Regions from separate parts of the Homo sapiens genome. Here regions 2, 3 and 4 are each linked to region 1. The links are contacts of gene promoters, found by promoter capture Hi-C in blood cells and fetal thymus (Javierre and others, 2016). All regions are on one chromosome and are shown on one strand. The core of a region is centred on a gene start or on the middle of the fragment in contact, and the rest is flanking DNA. Distances in the headings are between cores, read along the strand shown.

Evidence for each region. The method cuts DNA at HindIII sites, captures the fragments that hold promoters and counts their contacts. A CHiCAGO score of 5 or more calls a contact.
Region 2: a contact is called between a fragment that was not itself captured here and the fragment with the promoter of LMOD3 in region 1, in 1 of 17 cell types (activated CD4 T cells). The highest score is 5.6, in activated CD4 T cells.
Region 3: a fragment that was not itself captured here is called in contact with the fragment with the promoter of LMOD3 in region 1 in 5 of 17 cell types (neutrophils, activated CD4 T cells, total CD4 T cells and 2 more); the score reaches 11.7 in neutrophils.
Region 4: a contact is called between a fragment that was not itself captured here and the fragment with the promoter of LMOD3 in region 1, in 1 of 17 cell types (neutrophils). The highest score is 6.5, in neutrophils.

Annotation. Positions count from the first base shown.
Region 1 is chr3:69,119,833-69,125,295 of GRCh38, forward strand. It overlaps LMOD3 (leiomodin 3), which reads right to left and starts at 2,763. Exons shown (of 3, transcript NM_198271.5): 1 at 2,261-2,763; 2 at 1-228. The coding sequence starts at 2,554. RefSeq lists an enhancer at 1,618-2,817. The HindIII fragment of the contact is 5,880 bases long and covers 526-5,463 here.
Region 2 is chr3:69,362,604-69,368,066 of GRCh38, forward strand. All of the region lies in intron 1 of FRMD4B (FERM domain containing 4B), which reads right to left. Among named protein-coding and RNA genes, the nearest start is that of FRMD4B, 21 kb to the right of the region's middle. The HindIII fragment of the contact is 203 bases long and covers 2,250-2,452 here.
Region 3 is chr3:69,328,048-69,333,510 of GRCh38, forward strand. The region is part of intron 1 of FRMD4B (FERM domain containing 4B); the gene reads right to left. Among named protein-coding and RNA genes, the nearest start is that of FRMD4B, 55 kb to the right of the region's middle. The HindIII fragment of the contact is 6,316 bases long and covers 1-5,463 here.
Region 4 is chr3:69,281,728-69,287,190 of GRCh38, forward strand. All of the region lies in intron 5 of FRMD4B (FERM domain containing 4B), which reads right to left. Among named protein-coding and RNA genes, the nearest start is that of FRMD4B, 100 kb to the right of the region's middle. The HindIII fragment of the contact is 9,726 bases long and covers 1-5,463 here.

The DNA of each region.
Region 1 (5,463 bases), core at 1,513-4,012:
TTCCTCTTCTCTGTTCGTTTCTTCACTCTCTTCACCATCATCTTCTCCTTCGTCGTCATCATCATCATCTTCTTCTTCTTCATCTTCTTCATCTGTTTCTTGGATATTGCTGCTGCCCTTTGATTCTCTTTTATTTGCAACTATTTCATTATTGAGCTTTTCTTTTAAATACTGGGCCATATTTTTATTACGTTTTTCTATTTCTTCATGCTCTTCTTGAGTCTTTTCCTACAAGAGAGGTTTATGAGGGTTAGAATACATAGCAGAGAAGAAATATGAAGTGGAGCATCAGCTAGTGGAGATAATAAAAATGCTTATTTAAAAGAGCTGGTTGCTATTTTAAATAATCCTTATTTAAATAGCTGATTGCTAAAAATGGGTGGTTATTCTATCCCATAAATTAAAATGAGTATTAAAAGGAAACCTTATTAATTTTAATATTCTGTACTTTTTAATGGTGTTTAATTTCAGAAGCAGTTAAAAATTGTTTTGAAAACCTCATAGAATTGTTCATCGATACACTGAAGCTTTGATTTTGTATCTACCAAATAGGCATCTAGTACCCAACAGTCCTGAGTTAGGGCAATAATTTCCTTATTATTCCAATATATTATAAATGTGATACTATAAATATATTAGAATAAGGAAATTATTGCCCTAAAATTAACATCCCTACAATGTCTACTAATCTAGTATAGAATGTACATGAACTTCCTCTGAGAACATAACATAATGTATGGGAAATTAGATACGTTTGACATTTTGGAATATATATATATTTAAAAACCTCAATTTTGATTTTGAATATATATATATACATATATATATTTAAAACCTCAATTTTGATTCTATTTTTTCAGTTCTTTGACAACTGCCATGATACTCTGTCTAGGACAAGTTTACTATCCCAGTTTCTTGTGAAAGAAAGTGCCTAGGAACCAGGGCCAGCTGTAAGATGAAACAGGATTATGCAGACATTGAGAAATAATTGCTTAGTCTGGGAAATAAAATGGGCCTTTTATCAATAATATGTATTAGATTCTTGCACATCAATTATAATGCTTTTCTATGCAACTTGTGGGCCTCATAGATATCATTTTGAAAGCCAGTATAGCAAGTTGAGACACAGGTTCATTTGAGCAAAAATTTCATGCTCATAACATAGGTCAGAAGAGACAGTGACAAGTCACCTTAACCACCTGAAGTCTTCACCACTGCATTTCTCACCTTGACCAGAAGGGGGAGCCAACCATCAAGCTGTTCAAGTTATACCAGAGGAAGGAAAAACATGTTGCAAGTACTCGTTTTTACCCCCTGAAACTGGCATTCACATAGAATTGGCTTTTCATCCATTGATCTCCAGTTGTAAAAAATCTGCAAATTGTACCTTGAACTCTAACCTGATCAATCCAGCTGTTTCTTTTCTTAATCTTAGCACATGTTTAAACTCTACTGACTGTAAAACCAATTGACAACTTTCCTTAATTACAGCCAGCTTCAGAGTAATTTAACAAGATGTATCTTTGTAAACAGGCATAACCTAAAGAGACTTTACCTAGGAGGCATCTCTGTCCTCTTTTTGTTAAGTCATTTTCAAGTGGAACATAAAAAAAAAAATTATGCTCATGCACAGTAAGTTTGCAGAGTTAACAATTCTAGCTTTCAGGTTTTAGAAAGTGAAGAACTAGCTTCAAAACCACTTAATAGCCATCGATTTCTAAATGTCATCACTGACAGCCAATACATAGTAATAATATAAGACATTTTCTGGTTATTCGACTTGGTTTAATTGCAGGTTGTGTGGCCAGACTTCAGGAGGACTGAAATGTTTGACACTGTGTGCGAAACACTGCGTATGTTTGGATGTGCCAGAGAGACAGAGGCTACAGAGCTGTCATTACTTTCTCAAAGGGGCCTGCAATAAAAAAGAAAGAGAGAGGTAAGGACAACTGCCTCTGGGTTATGAGTTAAGTCACTAAGTATCGTGGCAATAGAACACAGGCTTTCTGACACAGCAAACCCGACAGCAATTTTTAAAAAGAGACATTTGCAAGAAATTACCCAATTTTCCCCTTGTAAATATAAATGTGTTTCAGAAAGTTCCAGTCGGAGTAGGATTAAATATTATGGTTTAATCTAGATATGGCAAAAACAAAGCAGAACCAAACCCTGGAGTCTTGAGAAATCACAGTTACAACAGAGAGACCTAACAGCCCATCCCAGGCAGCCATTTCTCGGTTGTACACAAATCTCTGGTTACCTCGGATTTCACAAAGGTGACAGGAACTCGTTCCTCTTCCAGCATGCGCCTGGATGCCTTTTCCCAATACATATAATCAACAAGAGATTTATGATTGAAGTTTCCTGTCGGTGGCTTGTCAGTTTGATCTTTCTGAATCATTCCCACGGGAAGGCTGGGGTCAGGGGCCATGACTTCCATTTCCGACTGCAGTTCTTTCAGTTCTTCAGCAGACAAGTTGGCCAAGATTTCATCTTCATTAATCTCCTCATCGAGAAGTTCTTCTTGATCTGAATTTCTGCTGTGCTCTGACATTATTTTTTCTAAATATTATTTTACTAGAAAAGAAGAATAATCAAAGATGATTTTTAAAAAGAAGGAAAAAAGCCTCAAGAAGGTCCCCCAGTTAACGAGTGTCCCAAGTTAACACACCCTTGAGATATTTTTTTTTTTTTCCCAGGAACCTCAGTGGTTTGCTGAGCAGCTAGGAGTGATCACAGCTAAGCTCTTGCCGGATCTATATTAAGCAGGGCTTGGCTGGATGGGGTCAATTTATGGAACAACTATGCTGCTCTCTTTTTGGCAACTTGAGTCAGCTGCGCAAATCCATCTGACATTTCAGTACAGCTGCTATGTTTGCCAGAGACTAGCAGAGACTACAGAATCTCTGCAGGAATAAAATTAATTATCTTCCTATATGCCATCATATTGCCATACACAAATTCATGCAGCTCATACATACATACCCCAATACTCCAGGGGATTCCACTTGTTTTTATTTAAATATTAAAGCAACTTACAATATTTCAGAAGGGAAATCCAACCAGCAACCTGAGTTGTTTCTGAAGTAAAGAATTCACTTGAAGGTAGAAATCAAGCTCTTAGGGTCTGCCTCTTCCCTACAAGGTGAGTGTGGAAGCAAATAAAGTGGTGCACAGTGGAACAGAGGTCTTGCTATGTCACTCATCCTCTGTGTAAGCCGAACCTTTGCAAGATGTCCTGTTTGCATCTAGATCCTGTGATCTAACAGATGGGGACAACCAGCACTTGGATTTCCACTATAAGTGAGTTTAATATTTTAAATTATTTGCTTTTCTTATTAAGTATCCATTAAGCCAATATCAATGAAAATGGCTCTAAAGTGAAGTGTTAAAAAAGAAATCCAGACCACTAATATACTAAAAGAAACTATGAGAAGATTTTGTTTTCAAACCCTGAAGGGGCAATATGCAACATTTGTCCAAATTACAAATGCCCATTTCCTTTGACCCAGCAATTCCACTTTGAGAAGTGTATCCTACAGATATACCCCTACATGGGTGAAACAACGTGTGTACAAGGTTACACAATATAGCAAAGTACAAAACAGTGTGTTTTACATGCCATTATTTGTGTGACAAAGGGTACAATAATATATAATATACAAGTTTTATTATATATATATTTAAGACAGGGTCTGGCTCTGTCACCCAGGCTGGAGGGCAGTGCTGCGATCTCAGCTCACTGCAACCTCTGCCTCCCAGGATCAAGCTGGGACCACAGGCATGCACCACTACACCCAGCTAATTGTATTTTTTGTAGAGACAGGGTTTTGCCATATTGCTCAGGCTGGTCTCGAATTTCTGAGTTCAAGCAATCCACCTGCCTCGGTGTCCCAAAGTTCTGGGATTACAGGCGTGAGCCACCGTGCCTGGCTCGTAAATATATTCTTATTCCGAAATATACATTCATTGTACAAGAGTTAGGATAACATAGAAAGGCACAGAACAAAATCTTCCCCTTACCTCACTGTGAAGCTACCACTATTAACATTTCAGTTTTTTCATTCCAGTCCTTTCTTTTAGGCATACAAACTCTATCATTTTTTCTCATCTGTTTTTTTGACTGAGAAAGTCAGGATTCTTTTTTTCTAGGCAACTGTGTACTCTACTACTAAATAATTTTTTATTGCCCTCTGTTAGGATTCTTTATATGGATGTACCATAATTTGTATAACCAATCCTCAATTGTTGGATATTTAGAATGTTTTCAATTCTCACAAGCACAAATAGTTCTTTAATAAATATCCCTATACCTAAATAGTTTATAAACACACAAGTTTATTTCTTTAGAGTAAATTGAACAAATTCTAAAAAGTGAAATTGCTAGGTCACAGAATACGAAGAAATTAAATACTTTTTATATGTAGATTAAAGTAACAGCAAAAATCACAATTACTTTTGCACCAACCTACTAGGACCCATCTCCAATCTACTTATATTAAATATTTACAAATACTATACATGTTGGCCGGGCGCCGTGCTCATGCCTGTAATCCCAGCACTTTGGGAGGCCGAGGCGGGCAGATCACCTGAGGTCAGGAGTTCAAGACCAGCCTGGCCAATATAGCAAAACTCTATCTCTACTAAAAATACAAAAATTAGCCAGGCGTGGTAGCAGGCACCTGTAGCCCCAGCTACCCGGGAAGCTGAGGCAGAGAATCACCTGAACCTGGGAGGCAGAGGCTGCAGTGAGCTGAGATCACACAACTGCATTCCAGCCTGGGTGGCAGAGCAAGACTCCATCTTAAAATAAATAAATAAAAACAAACAAACAGATATACATGTTACCATTCCAACATTTCATATATATGTAAGTTTGAAACTTGAGACACCCCCATTCCTTTCTCCAAAAGTATCCAAGGATTTTAGTTTCTTGTGTATCTGTCCAAGGATATTTTATTGATAAAATTTGTGAAAAAGGAAGAAAAAAAAAATCAAATCAAGTGTGAGTTTGAAATGAAAGTTATAATATTTTCTTCCTACCCTAGTGTTTTATCTTGAGCATTCCAGGTTGAAAGGCTTTTCATATGTAATTAATGCCCCAGAAAGGTATTTCCAATTTACTTGAATGAGAATTTTCAAAGGACACAGTTATGTACTGGCAACTTATCCCTGGCCTCTCGCCTATCAGGTCTTCTCTTCTTCTTTTTTTTTTTTTTTTTTTTTTTTGAGACTGAGTCTCACTCTATTGCCCAGGCTGGAGTACGGTGGTATGATCTCGGCTCACTGCAACCTCTGCCTCCTGGGTTCAAGTGATTCTTGTGCTTCAGCCTCCCCAGTAGTTGAGACTACAGGCGTGTACCACCACACCCGGCTAATTTTTGTATTTTTAGTAGAGATGGGTTTTCACCATGTTGGCCAGGCTGGTCTTGAACTCCTGACCTCAGGTGATCTGCCCATCTC
Region 2 (5,463 bases), core at 1,101-3,600, 240 kb after region 1:
AAGGCGGAGGTTGCAGTGAGCCGGGATCGTGCCACTGCACTCCAGCCTGGGTGACAGAGTGAGACTCCATCTCAAAACAACAACAACAAAAAGCCAACCCCCCCCCCAAAAAAACAAACAAAAAACAAAAACAAACTATCATGTTAATTTAAAAATCCCATACTTTTTAAAATAAAGAACTGTGAATTTTAAACAATTTCTTTCTATTCCTGCCCATCTTATTCTGAACTTAAACATTTTCCTTATATCAGCACATCTCCAATTTTTATTATATGTTTCCTAAAAAGTTTTTCATTTTGAATACTTTTGTTGTTGTTGTTGGACAATTCTTCTATAAGTCCTGACCTTCAAGTCCTGAGCTTATATTGTATCAGAATGCTTTTTACAGTAAAAAAAAAAAAAACAAACAAAAAGTGAAAATAACTTTAATAATATGGATCTATATTCTCAGTATCTCCAGGTAGGGCAGTGCCAAGGTTGGTGAGGTCAACAGATTAGCAATATCGTAAAAGTCCCAGGCTTCTTCTATTTTTCCACCCGGCCCATTCTTCTTACGTAACATTCCCTCATGGTTGCAATATAGCTGCCATCCTTGAAGCTCTCACATCTCCACTCCAAAAAAAAGGATCACTTCTTTTTACCATGTTTTTTTTTTTTTTTTAAATAGAGATGGGTCTTGCCATGTTGCCCGGGCTGGTCTTGAACTCCTGAGCTCAAGTGATCCTCCCATCTTGACCTCCCAAAGTGTTGGGATCATAGGTATGAGCCTCTGCACCTGGCCTCCATGCCTTTTTTTTTTTTTTTGAGACGGAGTCTTGCTCTGTTGCCCAGGCTGGGGTGCAGTGGCACAATCTCAGCTCACTGCAAGCTCCGCCTCCTGGGTTCACGCCATTCTCCTGCCTCAGCCTCCCGAGTAGCTGGGACTACAGGCGCCTGCCACCACGCCTGGCTAATTTTTTGTATTTTTAGTAGAGACGGAATTTCACCATGTTAGCCAGGATGGTCTCAATCTCCTGACCTCGTGATCCGCCTGCCTTGGCCTCCCAAAGTGCTAGGATTACAGGCGTGAGCCACTGCACCTGGCCCAGCCATGCCTATTTTCAAGAACAGACAGCTTTTTAAGAAATGGCTCCCCATTGACCAGAGCTGGGTCCTATGTTTACCCTTAACCAATCCCTGGCAGAGGAATAAGGTCATCATGACTAGCTTCAACCACAGCTTCAAAACCAGTGTACTGAGGCAACAGGTGTACTGAGCTATTGGTCTTTTCAGGACTGGAGGCAGCCAGAGACAATTTGGTGATCACCTCCAGCCTGAGCAGCTTCTTCCATTTACTCCAGGTGCCACACAAACACTATCATTTTCTGTGTATTCTATGACATCAGAGAAAGTAGGGAAGCACTGGGTTAGAGACCAATCAATCAGTATTTACCCAAGTTATATGGGCAAGGGGGTGATATTGATCCCTGAACCAAATCAGGCCTCTCAGGATGAAAGAAGCAAAGAATGGATGTTTAAATCAGGCTTAGAAAATGAACACAAAACAAGAGAACCCACAGGGAGCAAAGTAACAAGTTATGTCACGCGACTATCTTGCCTGTCCCACTCACCTCAGTTACTGCCTTGATGATTCTGACTTCCAAACATCCTGTCCTTTTAGCTCAAACTCAGAAGACAGGAACATGCAAGTTTAGCCAAGCTGAACCAGGGGACAGACAGAGGACAAGCTGGCCCCTTGGTGGCCACGGCAGGAAGCATGCGCTGGGACCTGCCATTTTGCCATCTGCCTGGTGGGCACCTCCAGAAGGGAGACTGGGTGCTAATGGTATGCCAGTGGTGAGTGAGCAGCTAAAAAATATGACAAAAACATTCATTGGGAAACTTCCTGCAGCAATTCCAGTTTGCCTCTGAGTCAGCCTGGCTCTGGTTAAAGTCTATATACAAACAAATCTGTGGGTCAACCCATCTTCACCCTCAGGGCACTATCTCCAGAATAACCATGGCATTAATGGGATCAGCAGTTTCAATCATCTCCTGAGTAATCAGTTCTGGTGCCTCCCCAAATGAGACAAATGACAGTTTCATGGTCGCTCGTGGCTATGAAATCTCATCGAGACAATTCGACTCTGGTTAAATTATATTTAAGTTAATAAATATGAATTTAGATGGCCAAAGAAGCTCAAAAACCCCTGGGCATCTAAGACAAAAAAGAAAAAATAAATGGTGCAGCATTCTGTTCTCCTACCCCAAGCTTTCTCACTTGTTTTTTTAAAAAAATAAATAAAGGCCTTGGTGATTCCTTCTCAGTTCATCTAAATGAAGTTTAGGCCATTTACAGAAGAGATAAAACAAAATTGCTGAAATTCACTAAACAGTAAAGGAGGAAACCACAATATGAAACCGAATAGTATAGTGATTATAAAAAGCAATAACTATTCTCAGCCATTTCTAAAGCTTAAGATTTTAGTGCATAACAGAGAGGCTGTGTGAACATCTATCTTTATGGCACTTGGGTTTTAACCAGCAATGCTCTATATAAACCTATTTTAACTATACAAGGAAATTCCATATCACTCTGAGATGACAAATATTCTCTAGGAGACTAAAACCTGCTCTCAAGTCTGGCTCTAAAATTGTTCTCAAACCAATTTATACTGTGACAAAACACAGTATGTGTTTCCCCCAATGTTATCGGGCAAGAACAACTCCAGTATTCCAAGTATCATGGTCCTTAAGAAAGTTATGGAAATTGGACATCTCTACTAATAAATGAAGTAAAATAAAAACAAATAAAATGTACATTTTTGGCCAGCAGACTGGTATAAATCAAAGTTGCTAGCTAGAATGTGGACAAGAATGATTCTTATTCACTTGGTAGTAGCATAAATAGATACAACCTTTGTTTTTTTTCTTTTTTTTGAGATGGAGTCTTGCTCTGTTGCCCAGGCTGGGGTGCAGTGAAGCAATCTCGACTCACCACAAACTGCCTCCCGAATCAAGCAATTCTCCTGCCTTAGCCTCTGAATAGCTGGGATTACATGCGCACTTCACCACGCCTGGCTAATTTTAGTATTATTACAGACGGGGCTTCACCATGTTGGCCAGGCTCATCTTGAACTCTTGACTTCAAGTGATACACCCGCCTCGGCCTCCCAAAGTGCTGGGATTACAGGTGTGAGCCACCGCACTCAGCTGTGGAATTTTCGGAAAACCAAATTCCTTCCAAATTCCAGCAATATCATTTCAAAGTATTCACTTCACAGAAATGCTCCCACAAATGTTTTATGTATAAGAATGGTTACTGTAGCATTGTCTTAGTAAAAATTAGAAACAGGTCAAGCATGGTGGCTTATGCCCGTAATCCCAGCACTTTGAGAGGCTGAGGAGGGGGCAGATCATTTGAGGCCAGGAGTTTGAGATCAATCTGGCCAACATGGAAAAACCCCACCTCTACAAAACACACACACACACACACACACACACACACACACACACACACACACAAAATTAGCTGGTCATGGTGGCACAGGCTTGTAATCCCGGCTACTTGGGAGGCTAAGGCAGGAGAATTGTTTGAACCCAGGAGGCGGAGGTTGCAGTGGGCCGAGATTGCATCACTGCACTCCAACCTAGGCAACAGAGCAAGGCTCTGTCTCAAAAAACAAAAACAAAAACAAAAACAAAAAAAATTGACAACAACTTAATGTCCATCAATAGGAGACTGATGTAATTATTAAAAATTAATTATGGTTCATTCATACCATTGAATATACAACACTTATTAAAAATAATGACATATATCAGTATGTAAGACATGTAAGTAAATACATTTTAGAATAAATTATGTGGGGTGATCTCACCTCGTGATCATGGTATCTCCCCTGCCAGGTAAGTATAGGGTGATCTCACCTCTGTAAAAATTTATATTATAATGATATGATATGTATGTCACTATAGGTTTAGAAAATATCTGGCAAATATATGCCCTGTTAATAACCATTAAAGAACCTTCATGTTCTAAGCCATGCATATCTCTAACAATTAAATTTATTAACATATGTTGCTTTAATGATAAAAACTCTATAGTTCTTAAAAGAGCACAAACACGACCTTTTTTTTCAATAGTATTCATATCAATAATAATTAATAGTCTTTGTATTTTTCTTGTTGTTTTGTTTTGTTTTTAGACAGGGTCTCACTCTGTTGCCCAGGCTGGAGTGCAGTGGGATGATCACAGCACACTGCAGCCTCAACCTCCTGGGCTCAAGTGATCCTCCCACCTCAGCCTCCTGAGTAGCTAGAACTACAGGTGTTGCCACTATGCCCGACTAATTTGTATTTTTTGTAGAGATGAAATTTTGCCATGTTGCCCAGGCTGGTCGTGAACTCCTGGACTCAAGTGATCCACCCATCTCAACCTCCCAAAGTGTTGGGTTTACAGGTATGAGCCACCGTGCCAAGTGAACAATCATTTTTAAATGGACATACTAGACAAACACTTGGAGACACTACTACCTTCTGGCACTGTGTGAATGGACACAAAGTTAAATTAAACAGATCTTTATTCTCCAGAAATGGTCTACACAAGAGCCTGGATCAAATGTTTTGAATAGGACATTTTACAAAATTGTAAAAATATTATAGATATTCTTGCTATAAAATATTTGATTTCAGAATAATATGAAAGTAAGAGAAGCAGAAACTTCTCCTTCATCCACTTACACTTCCCAGAGGTAAAAATTATTTATTAATAATTTGGGCTATACATGTCCAGCCCCATCCCTCCACACATACATGAACACATACATACACACATTGCTTGCATATATCCATAACAATACACATACATACATATATACATACACATGTACACATCCCATATATTGTCTTGTACTTTGTTTTTGTTTTTACCCAAAAAATATATCATTGACAATTATCTGGGCCAATATTTTTGTTTTTACCCAAAAAATATATCATTGACAATTATCTGGGCCAATATTTTTGTTTTTACCCAAAAAATATATCATTGACAATTATCTGAGCCAATTTTCAACTCCATTCTCTCTCCTGATCTCATAGAATCCCATAGTACCGAGGTACTGTCATTTAATGAACTATTCTGTTTATTCTCACTGCTTTGCTATTTGAAATATGAAAATATGAAAATCCTTGCACGTGCGCCATTACATGAGAATGTCCTTAGGAGGATTTCCTGAAATGGAAATGCTTGGTCATAGAGAACAAATATCTTACATTTTGACTGGAAACAACTAGACTGTGCTATAAAAAGGTTGCAACAATTTATCAGATCAATCATAATTTAATGCTTCTGCTTTAAAATATCCATTTCCTCTCATTCTTATTTTAGGTAATTTCACCTATATGACATATATCAGTATGTAAAACATGTTATAGTCCCATTTCTGGGATGCTTTTCCTTCTCTCTTTTTTTATTTTACCTCT
Region 3 (5,463 bases), core at 1,753-4,252, 210 kb after region 1:
ATTTATTGGCAAGCACCAGGGAACATAACTGGGAGGAAAGATCTTTTGAGAGACAGAATGGTGGTGGAGAGCTGGCTCTTGGCCACTCACGAAAGCCCACTGTCCCATTTTCAAGCTGGTTGTTAGGTACAACTAATATGAACTTACAATGAAATAAATCGCATTAAAAGCAAAGGTAATAAAACTCTTCACTTTCCAATTGTTTTACTACATTTACTATGACCTTTGCTCTTGTGGTTATTGAATCTGCATGGAAGTAACACCATTTAATGATATGCTACTGCTCGTCTCTTCCCAGATCAGTAAGTCAGTCAAGGTGAGAGTATTTACACCACAGAAAATGGCAAGTGTTGCAAATCAGTGTCCCTTTTTCCCCAGAGCTGGTTGTGTCAGAGGTGTTTGCACTGGAGTGACTCCATCTTGAATAGGACCTGGGTAAAATAAGGCTGAGACCTACTGGGCTGCATTCACAGGAGGTCAGGCATTCTTAGTCACAGGATGAGATAGGAGGTCAGCAGGGCTGGTATCACAAGATACAGGTCATAAAGACTCAGCTGATAAAACAGGACACAGCAAAGAAGCCAGCCAAAACCCACCAAAACCAAGATGGTGATGAAAAAAGACCTCTGGTAGTCCTCACTGCTCATTATACACTAATTATAATGCAATTGCATGCTTTAAGACACTCTCACCAGCACCATGACAGTTTACAAATGCCATGGCAACATCCAGAAGTTACCCTATATTGTCTAAAAAGGGAAGGAACCCTCACTTCTGGGAACTGCCTGCCTGTTTCCTGGAAAATTCATGAATAACCCACCCCTTGTTTAGCATATGATCAAGAAATAATCATAAAAATAGCCATCTAGCAGCTCTCGGTGCTGCTCTGCCTATGGAGTGGCCATTCTTTTGTTTCTTTACTTCTCTAATAAACTTGCTTTCACTTTACTCTATGGACTCATCCTAAATTCTTTCCTGCTCGAGATCTAAGAACTCTTGGGCTCTGGATCAGGACCACTTTCCAGTAACAGCTGAGAAACATTTACCAGCATACCAGTGGAGAAAGTGATGGTCAGAACACTCAGGATGTGGAGGCCGTTGAGAGACCACGTGATAAAGATGAACAAACAGAGGCTTCAGGTTTACAGAGAATTCTGTTTGAAGCCCAGCTTACTTAACTTTAGTAGGACTTACTATTTTAAATCTCTAAAATAGATTTACTAATACCTTCCAGGGTTGTTGTGCATAGAACTTGGCGAACAGAGGCCAACATAAAGGTGACTATTATAATTTATTTCTTTATTTTTATTTTTATGTTTTGAGACAGAGTCTCATTCCGTCACCCAGGCTGGAGTGCAGTAGCGCAATCTCTGCTCACTGCAACTTCTCCCTCCCGGGTTCAAGCAATTCTCCTACCTCAGCCTCCCAAGTAGCTGGGACTACAGGCATGCACCACCATGCCCAGCTAATTTTTTTTTTTTTTTTTTTTTTTTTTTTTGAGATGGAGTCTCACACTGTTACCTGGGCTGGAGTGCAATGGTGTGATCTTGGCTCACTGCAGCCTCTGCCTCCTGGGTTCAAGCAATTCTCCTGCCTCAGCCTCCCGAGTAGCTGGGATTACAGGCGCCCGCCACCAGGCCTGGCTAATTTTTTTTTGTATTTTTAGTAGAGACGGGGTTTCACTATGTTGACCAGGCTGGTCTCAAACTCCTGACCTCAGGTGATCTGCCTGCCTCAGCCTCCCAAAGTGCCGGGATTTGTTATAATTTATTATTGGGTACTGGGCTTTATACCTGGGTGATGAAATAATCTGTACAATAAACCCCTATGACACGAGTTTACCTGTGTAACAAACCTTCACATGAACCTCCCAAACCTAAAAGTTAAAAATAAATTTATTATTATACTTCAAGAAATCCACAGTGCATAGCTCACTGATGAAGGTCTCCTGACCTTGGATGGCAACTCTCATATCAGATCCTCTGTGTCATTTGCCTTTCCAGCTCTTTTGCCACTGGAATGTAAGTTCCACAAATGCAGAGATTTGTTTCATTTCCTGGTGTTTTCCTAGCCCCTAAGACAGTGCTTAGCTCATCCTGGGGCTCGACAAATATTTGTGGAATGAACAAATGAGTTGATTTTCCTTCATTTCCATCTCCTGCTCTCCTTCTGAATTTTCTACCCATTTCTACTTTGAAGGTCCCATTGGCAGCTGAGTGACTCCTTTGTCTTTTTTTTTTTTTAATATTATATATATTCAAGGTATACAACATTATATTTTGATTCTTTTGCCTTTTTTTTTTTTTTTTTTTTTTTTGAGACGGAGTCTTACTCTGTCACCCAGGCGGGAGTGCAATGGGGTGATCTCGGCTTACTGCAACCTCTGCCTCCTGGGTTCAAGTGATTCTCCTGCCTTAGCCTCCTGAGTAGCTGGGATTACAGGTGTGCGGAAATATACCTGGCTAATTTTTGTATTTTTAGTAGAGACAGGGTTTCATCATGTTGGTCAGGCTGGTCTCGAACTCCTGACCTCGTGATCTGCCCGCCTCAGCCTCCCAAAGTTCTGGGATTACAGACGTGAGCCACTGTGCCTGGCCGCCTTTTTTTTTTCCTTATCTATGTATTTTATAATAGAGACAGGGTCTCACTATGTTGCCCAGGCTGGTTTTGAACTCCTGGGCTTAAGTGATCCTCCTGTCTCAGCCTCCCAAAGTGCTGGGATTACAGGCGTGTGCCACCACGCCCGGCCTCTTTTGCCGCTGAATTGCTAGATGCCTCCCAGTTGTGTTGCTGCTATCTTTCTGGAATCTTTTCCCTGCTGAAGGAGGCTGCCATGACCTTAAAGCACCGGTGGAAGATGTTTCCAACTTTTTCATTCACAAGCAGATTTGAGCACATGTCATTATGCTCTGTCGGCAAGTTTCTCCCACTTCTGTTCCTGCTCTATTCTAATCTCAGTTCCGTTCTGCCTCCATCAGAAGGAACGAACGTGTCTTGTGAGAGGAAATCTCAACCAACACTTGAGGCTGTATCCAGGGAACCAAATATTTTCCCCCGTGTCCCTATCTCAAAGCTGTTTCTTAGACTTCCTCTTAAACAGTATTTCTGAAGGGTGGGGAGGGTAGAGTAGGATCACTCAAAAAAGCGTTGGTGCTTCTGGTAAGAGTGGCCTGGACAGGGGATTATGCAAACTCATTGAGGAGTCCTTAAATTCCAGAATTTGAAATTTTGGTCACTCTTGCTTTAGGCAGAGGGATAATACTGGGTGCAGCTGGCCACTCAGCCCCTCGGCGTAGGGCGGTGGTTGGGAGCAGCCCCTGGGGAGTCAGACAGGTATGATATCTGATGCTGGCCTGCCCTCTAACTAGCTGGTGACTTTAGGCAAGTCATGTATCCTCTCTGAGTAGCTGCTGTAAAATGGAGATAATTTTGCCTAGTGCACTGTTAGCATTCCATATTATTACTTTTTAAAGTACAGTGTATTATTTAAGAAGTGTCAGGGTCAAGAGCACAGACTTGGACTTAAATCCCAGCTCTGCTCTATACTACTGTGTGACCTTGTATAGGTTACCTCACTTCTCTTGACCCTTGGTTTTCTTGTCTGAAAATGGAGATACTAAAAGCACACTCACTTCCCAGGGCTGGGTGGCTCACATGAGATAAGATGTATAAAATGCTTGGCAGAGGACACACTCTATAAATGGTAATATTAATAATTATTAATAATATTATACTTTTCACTAACAAACAACAAGTAATTGGCTGGGCATGGTGGCTCACGCCTATAATCCCAGCACTTTGGGAGGCCGAGGTGGGTGGATCAAGAGGTCAGGAGTTCAAGACCAGCCTGGCCAAGATGGTGAAACCCTGTCTCTACTAAAAATACAAAAATTAGCCTAGCGCAGTGGCTGGTGCCTGTAATCCCAGCCACTCGGGATGCTGAGGCAGATAATTGCTTGAACCCAGGAGAGGGAGGTTAAAGTCAGCTGAGATCACGCCACTGCATTCCAGCCTGGGCGACACAGCAAGACTCCATCTCAGAAAAAAACAAACAAACAAAAAAACACCAAGCAATTGATACAGACTCCTTCAGGATGAAAGCTCCCACAGGCCATGTTCAGGTGCCGGGCAGGTGGTGAGCAGGTTCCACTCTGTCCCTGGACCTTGCAGAAGAGAAGGGAGCAGGCAGGTCTGGCCACATAAAACCTAGTCTGAATGTTCCATCATCACCTCACCTGTCTGGAGTGCCTCAAATTTTTGAAGTGCTTTCACCTCTATTTCCTCTTTTGAACTTTACAAGGAGTCTCAATGTGCCAGAAATGTCATACCCTCATTTTACAGATGAGGTCACTGAGGCCCAAAGAAGCAGCTACTCAGAGAGGGCACATGCCTTGCCTGAAGTCACCGGCCTCAGGTGAGGATGGCCAAGATCAGGTATCATACCTGTCTGACTCCCCAGGGACTTCTTCCTCCCTTGTGGTCACAAAGGTAAATGAGACAAGACTCCTGATGGGAGTTCCTTTCTTTTCTTTTTCTTTATTTATTTTGAGACAGGGTCTCACTCCATTGCCCAGGCTGGAGTGCAGTGGCGTGATCATGACTCACTGCAGCCTTGAACGCCTGAGCTCAAATGATCTTCCTACTTCAGCTTCCCGAGTAGCTAGGACTACAGGTGTGCACCACCACACCTGGCTATTTTTTTTTTTTTTTTTTTTTTTTTTGTAGAGATGGGGTCTTGCAATTTTGCCCAGGCTGTTCTCAAACTCCTGGGCTCCAACAATCCTCCCGCCTTAAGCGCTGGGATTACAGGCATTATCCACTGTGCCCAGCCAGGAGCTCCTTTTTTCTATCGCTTCAAACCATCTCCTCGTCCTTAACAAGAGCATTCACCAAAAAGCAGAGTTAAAAAATATCAAGCTAAAATATAAGCCAGTTCCTGTATGCAATGCTTCATCTTGTGCCTTTTACAGTGGGAAGCCTTTCCATCACATTAAACTAGAATTGTAAGCTGAATGCAGCTCTCTCAACTCAGGGATGCTTTTGGGAATCTGCAGTGCTCCATCGTTATGGTCTTGGCTGCCTCGATGGCTCAGCCTGCCAGTCCCTGAAGCCTTTTATTAGACTGCAGTCAATGAAAAAAATACACATTTTAAAAAAAATTGGAGAATTCTGCAACTGTCCTGGAGATAAAAATCTCTGGTTTTTTTGGCTTGTGAACTATTCCAACTACTGTCAGAGTCCTGAAGGCTTTAGTGCACTGGAGCAAGGAAGAGTTTCATCAAAGAGAAATGATTTGCTTAAACAAGAAAAGGGAATCCCGTGGTGCAGACGGGGATGAAACGTGGAGAAAAAAGATATGAACCTGGAAAAGTCAAATGAGCCAGATCACCCCCAGATTTCCATGAATATTTTGGTTGAGAATTAGAAATCCTTGTAGAACTTTCAGTTTTGTTCCATTACAAT
Region 4 (5,463 bases), core at 1,207-3,706, 160 kb after region 1:
GCAGGAGAATCGCTTGAACCCAGAAGGCGGAGGTTGTAGTGAGCTGAGATCGCACCACTGCACTCCAGCCTGGGTGACAGAGTAAGACTCCGTCTCAAAAAAAAAAAAAAAATATATATATATATTTTTGCTTACAGTATTTTTCACAAAAGTGAAAAATCTTTATTCCTTTTTCAGACCATGCTGGATACCCAAACTCAGAAACGAGGCACAATTGTTTCTTTCAACACATTGAAGTGTCACCAATGGCTTATTCTCTATGCCGTATGGGCAATGATATTTACAGAACCCATTGAGAGCCACCCAGTTTTTCAAATGACATACTCATGAGGCTGAATTTTATAAATCCGTATTTATGTAGCTGTGCAGAGCTTCAGCAACTGTATCAAATCTTATCATAAGTCATATTTCTTACTAAACAAGTATGTAAGAAGACATTGTGGTTTTATCAGTATTTGCAAATAAGAGCTCTCTTTTCTTGCCTGTGTATTTCTGTTCTCAGTGGAAGGAAGGAAGTAGCTGTAGGCGAAAGCTGTCTGGCAGAGAAGAAATGTGTGTAGGGTGTGATCAGAGGTGTCAAACATCTCACTGGAGAGAAGAATGCCCTCTGTGCAGTGTGGAGGGGGGGCCCGTTCACTTTCAGATCTAGCTGTGAGTCCTGAGTTAACAGCAGCTACCAACCATCAGTGACTCACTTTTGCCAATCAATAAATCCACCTACGAGTGTTCTACAGCTGAAACTATGTTCTCATAAAACTTATTTGTCTCTGTGGCCATGGTTCAGCTGATATTCCTTATGTGGAATGTTCTCAAACAATCATACATCTTAAGAAATTGCTTGAAAGCTGCTTTATCCAAACAGCTACCTGATCCTGGAACATCTCTTAGAATTTGTTACCAGCCATCTACATTTTATATACGTATATTTGGAGATGGAGTCTCATTCTGTTGCCAGGTTGGAGTGCAGTAGTGTGATCTTGGCTCACTGCAACCTCTGCCTTCCAGGTTCAAGCGATTCTCCTGCCTCAGCCTCCGGAGTAGGTGGAATTACAGGCGCCCACCACCACACCCAGCTAATTGTTGTATTTTTGTAGAAACAGGGTTTCACCATGTTGGCCAGGCTGGTCACGAACTCCTGACCTCAAGTGATCCACCCGCCTTGGCTTCCCAAAGTGTTGGGATTACAGGTGTGAGCTACCACACCCAGCCATCTGCATAATAATTAGATAGAAAATATCCCACTCTAAATTCCTACAAATAAAATTTAAAAAATTATCTCAATAACAGTCATAGTGCCTTACAATATTATGTTCTGTAAAAGTTCTAAATTATTTGACAAGTCATGAAACACTCCCATTTAGAAAGGAGCTCCCAGGCCAGGCGCTGTGGCTCACACCTGTAATCCCAGCACTTTGGGAGGCCGAGGTGGGTGAATCACTTGAGGTCAGGAGTTTGAGAACAGTCTGGCCAACATGGTGAAACCCCATCTCTACTAAAAATACAAAACATTAGCTGGACGTGGTGTCAGGCGCCTGTAATCTCAGCTACTCGGGAAGCTGAGGCAGAGAATCGCTTGAGCCCAGGAGGCAGGGGTTGCAGTGAGCTGAGATTGCACCATTGCACTCCAGCCTGGGCAACAAGAGTGAAACTCCATCTCAAAACAACAACAACAACAAACAAAAAACAAAAAAGCAACAACAACAAAAAAAAAAAAAAAAGAAAGAAAGGTGCTCCTAGCAACTGACATTCATGAAATGCAGTAGCATTTAAAGGAATTCTGCTTTTCCTTGCTTTCTCAAGACAAACAGAATTTAGCATGCAGAGGTACAAGAGAAACGTCATGAGTTGAAAATCTTCATTCTAACCACCTTTGCATTAGCAACAGAGAAAACACTTGATCAATGCCAACTAGGCAGTGAAAAATATTACAAGGAGCGATTGTATGTCTCCACATAGGAGAGGATAGCCAACTGTGGTTTATGAAACGTGTTCCTGACTCAGTAAATGCTGTGTTTGAAAAGCTGTGTTTGTTATATAGGTGTCTACTCATCAGTCAACCCTTAGAGTTCTTAGGAAAACCTGAATCTCAGAAAAGAGGGCTGTAGTAAAGCCTTTGATGCTGGGAACATTTTACTTTCCCGATAGACTCAGCCAAAAACTCTGCTTCGAATATTTACACTTCCAGCCAAGATGGAGTAACAGGGACTGAATTTATCCTCTTAACTGAAAAAACAAAACAAAACAAAACAAAAAAAACAAAAAACAGACAAAATATATAAAACAACAGTTTTCATAACACTGAATATCCAGCAACGAAGATAGTGAACCTTGAACAAGGCGAGCCCTATGACTGCCCCCAGTACTGTCAAGAGAGGGCTCCAGGCTGTGGAGGGAGAAACACAGCAGAACACAGTGAACTCCCTGAGCTAAGGAGATGCAGCAACTCCTTAGTCTGGGAGATCAAAATGAATAGAATTTGCAGAACAGTCTGCCAGAGAAAAGAGAGCTGCGAAGAGAGAGAACCCCTGAAAATCTATAGAGGGTCTCCTCTGAGGATTCGGTAGAGCACTCATCATTCCATGCATGAAAAGAAACTACCCAAAGTTGGAGACCATCTGAAAGGATAAGAGGGAAGAGTGCCTCATCCTTACAGGGCTGGAGGTGGTGCCTATTCCCACCAGCCAGAATAAAAAACTCATAATTCATGGGGCATTGAATAGAGTACTCAGGAAGATCAGTATGCAGAACAATTAGCTATAGAATGTGCACTGCTCTGGGCTAGACTAACAAATCATAAAAGCAAGACCTGAAAAAAACCAAACCATATTCAATCAACTAAACTGCATCCCAAAACCAAACATCAAGAATATTTATAGGAACACAAAAAATATATAGCATTCAAAAAGATACAATTAATAATGCCTACCATCCTACCAAATATTGCCAGGCATGCAAATAGGCAGAGAAACATGACCCATAACAAAGACAAAAATCAATCAAAAATACCCGGAACTGACACAGACATTAGGATAAACAGACAAAGGCATTAAAACAATTATTATAACTATATTTAATATGCTTAAAAAGTTAAATAGTCACATGCAAGATGTAAAAAGGATCCAAATCAAACCTCTAAAGATAGAAACTCTAAGGCCGAGCATGGTGGCTCATGCCTGTAAATCCCAGCACTTTGGGAGGCTGAGGTGGGAGGATCACCTGAGGTCAGGAGGTTGAGACCAGTCTGGCCAACATGGTGAAACACCATCTCTACTAAAAATACAAAAAATTAGCCAGGTGTGTTGGCACATGCCTGTAATCCCAGCTACTCGGGAGGCTGAGGCAGGAGAATCACTTCAATCCAGGAGGTGGAGGTTGTGGTGAGCCAAGACTGTGCCACCGCACTCCAGCCTGGGCAACAAGAGTGAGACTCTGTCTCAAAAAATAAAACAAAACAAAAAAACAAAAACAAAAACTCTAATATACAAAATGGGATTAATGGCAGATTAGATTGCAAAAAACAGATGAGGGAAACTGAAGACAAAGCAAGAGAAACTATACAAGATATCATATTCCCCCAAATCCCCACAAATGCAAAGCATTACTATGTGACAAGTTCAAGTGGCCAAGCGTATGTGTAATTGGGCTTTGCAAATGAGGCATACATGAGGCCAAAAAAAAAAAAAAAAAACCTGAAGAAATAACGGCTAAAATGTTTCCGAATTTGATGACAACTATAAGCCAAGATGCTCAATAAATGCCAATGACACACACACATACACAAACACATGAAGAAAGCTATACCAAGGCACCTCATAATAAAAATCCTCAAAGCAGGCCAGGCACAGTGGCTCATGCCTATAATCCCAGCACTTTGGGAGGCTCGAGGCAGGTGGATCACCTGAGGTCAGGAGTTTGAGACCAGCCTGGCCAATATGGCGAAACCCCATTGCTACAAAAAATACAAAAATTAGCCGGGTGCGGTGGTGCACACCTATAGTCCCAGCTACTCGGGAGGCTGAGGCAGGCGAATTGCTTGAACCTGGCAGGCAGAAGTTGCGGTGATCTGAGATGGCACCACTGCACTTCACCCTGGGCAACAAAGCGAGACTCCATCTCAAAAAGAAAAAAAAAATAATTGCTCAAAGCAGAAAAAAGAAAAAAGAGAAAAATTTAAAAGCAGCTAAAGAAAAAGATATTCCATACAGAAACACAAAGATAAAGATGACAGCAGACTTCTCATCAGAAACAATGCAAGCAAGAAGATAGTGAATCAGTATTTCTAAAGTACGGAGAGAGAAAAACTGCCAACAAGAATCCTATATCATGTGAATTATCTTCTAAAACCAAAGGCAAATAAAGATGTCTTCAGGTACAAGCTGAAGGAATTCACCACTAGTATGCCCACACTATAAGAAATGCTAAAGGAAGTCCTCCAGGCAGAAAGAATCATAACAGACAGAAATATTAACCTACACAAGTGAATGAAGAGCAACAGAAATGCTAACTCCATGGGTAAATATGTAAGACTTTTGGTACTGTTTAAATCTCTTTAAAGTTAATTGAATATTTACACAAAAATAATAATGTCATGTGCATCTGTAACTTATCTAAAAGTAAATTGTATGACATCAATCGCATAAAGGCTGAGAGGAGAGAAATGGAAGTATACTACTGTAAGATTCTTATGCTACATGTGAAGTGGTATAATATCATCTTGAAGGTAGACTTGATAAGTTAAAAATGTGTATACTATAAACCCTAAAGTAACCATGGAAACAACAAAGAGTTATAGCTAATAATCCAACAAAAGAGGTAAAATGAACACATAACATGCTCAATAACCCTAAAAGAAGGCCTGGAAACAGGTATACAGTCTGGATAGGGAATTCTGAGATTCCCAGGCATTGAGATCAGAACGTACAAGGGAGGAGCCAGGCTCCACTGGGCATCTCTTGGCCCATGGCTTCCCTTCCCTTCCTCAGGAAGTTGCTTGAGAAGACCACAGTGAAGGCTTTTAAAGCTATGCTAGTCTGCAAAGAGAAAAAACAAAAAACTGAGAGTGTTTAAAAACTTTTTTTGTTTTATTCTTGTTTTTGAGACAAAGTCTAACTCTGTCGCCCAGGCTGGAGTGCAGTGGCACAATCTAGGCTCACTGCAACCTCTGCCTCCAGGGTCCAAGTGATTCTCCTGCCTCAGCCTCCCGAGTAGCTGGGATTACAGGGGCACACCACCACGCCTAGCTAATTTTTGTATTTTTAGTAGAGATGGGGTTTCACTGTGTTGGCCAGGCTGGTCTCGAACTACTGACCTCGTGATCCACCTGTCTTGGCCTCCAAAAGTGCTGGGATTACAAGCATGAGCTGCCATGCTCGGCCGTAAAAACGTTTATAGCAATTTGACATGGCTGTAACATCCCAGCATGGGATTATTTTTCTAGCAATGCATGTTTATTGAATTTTATAA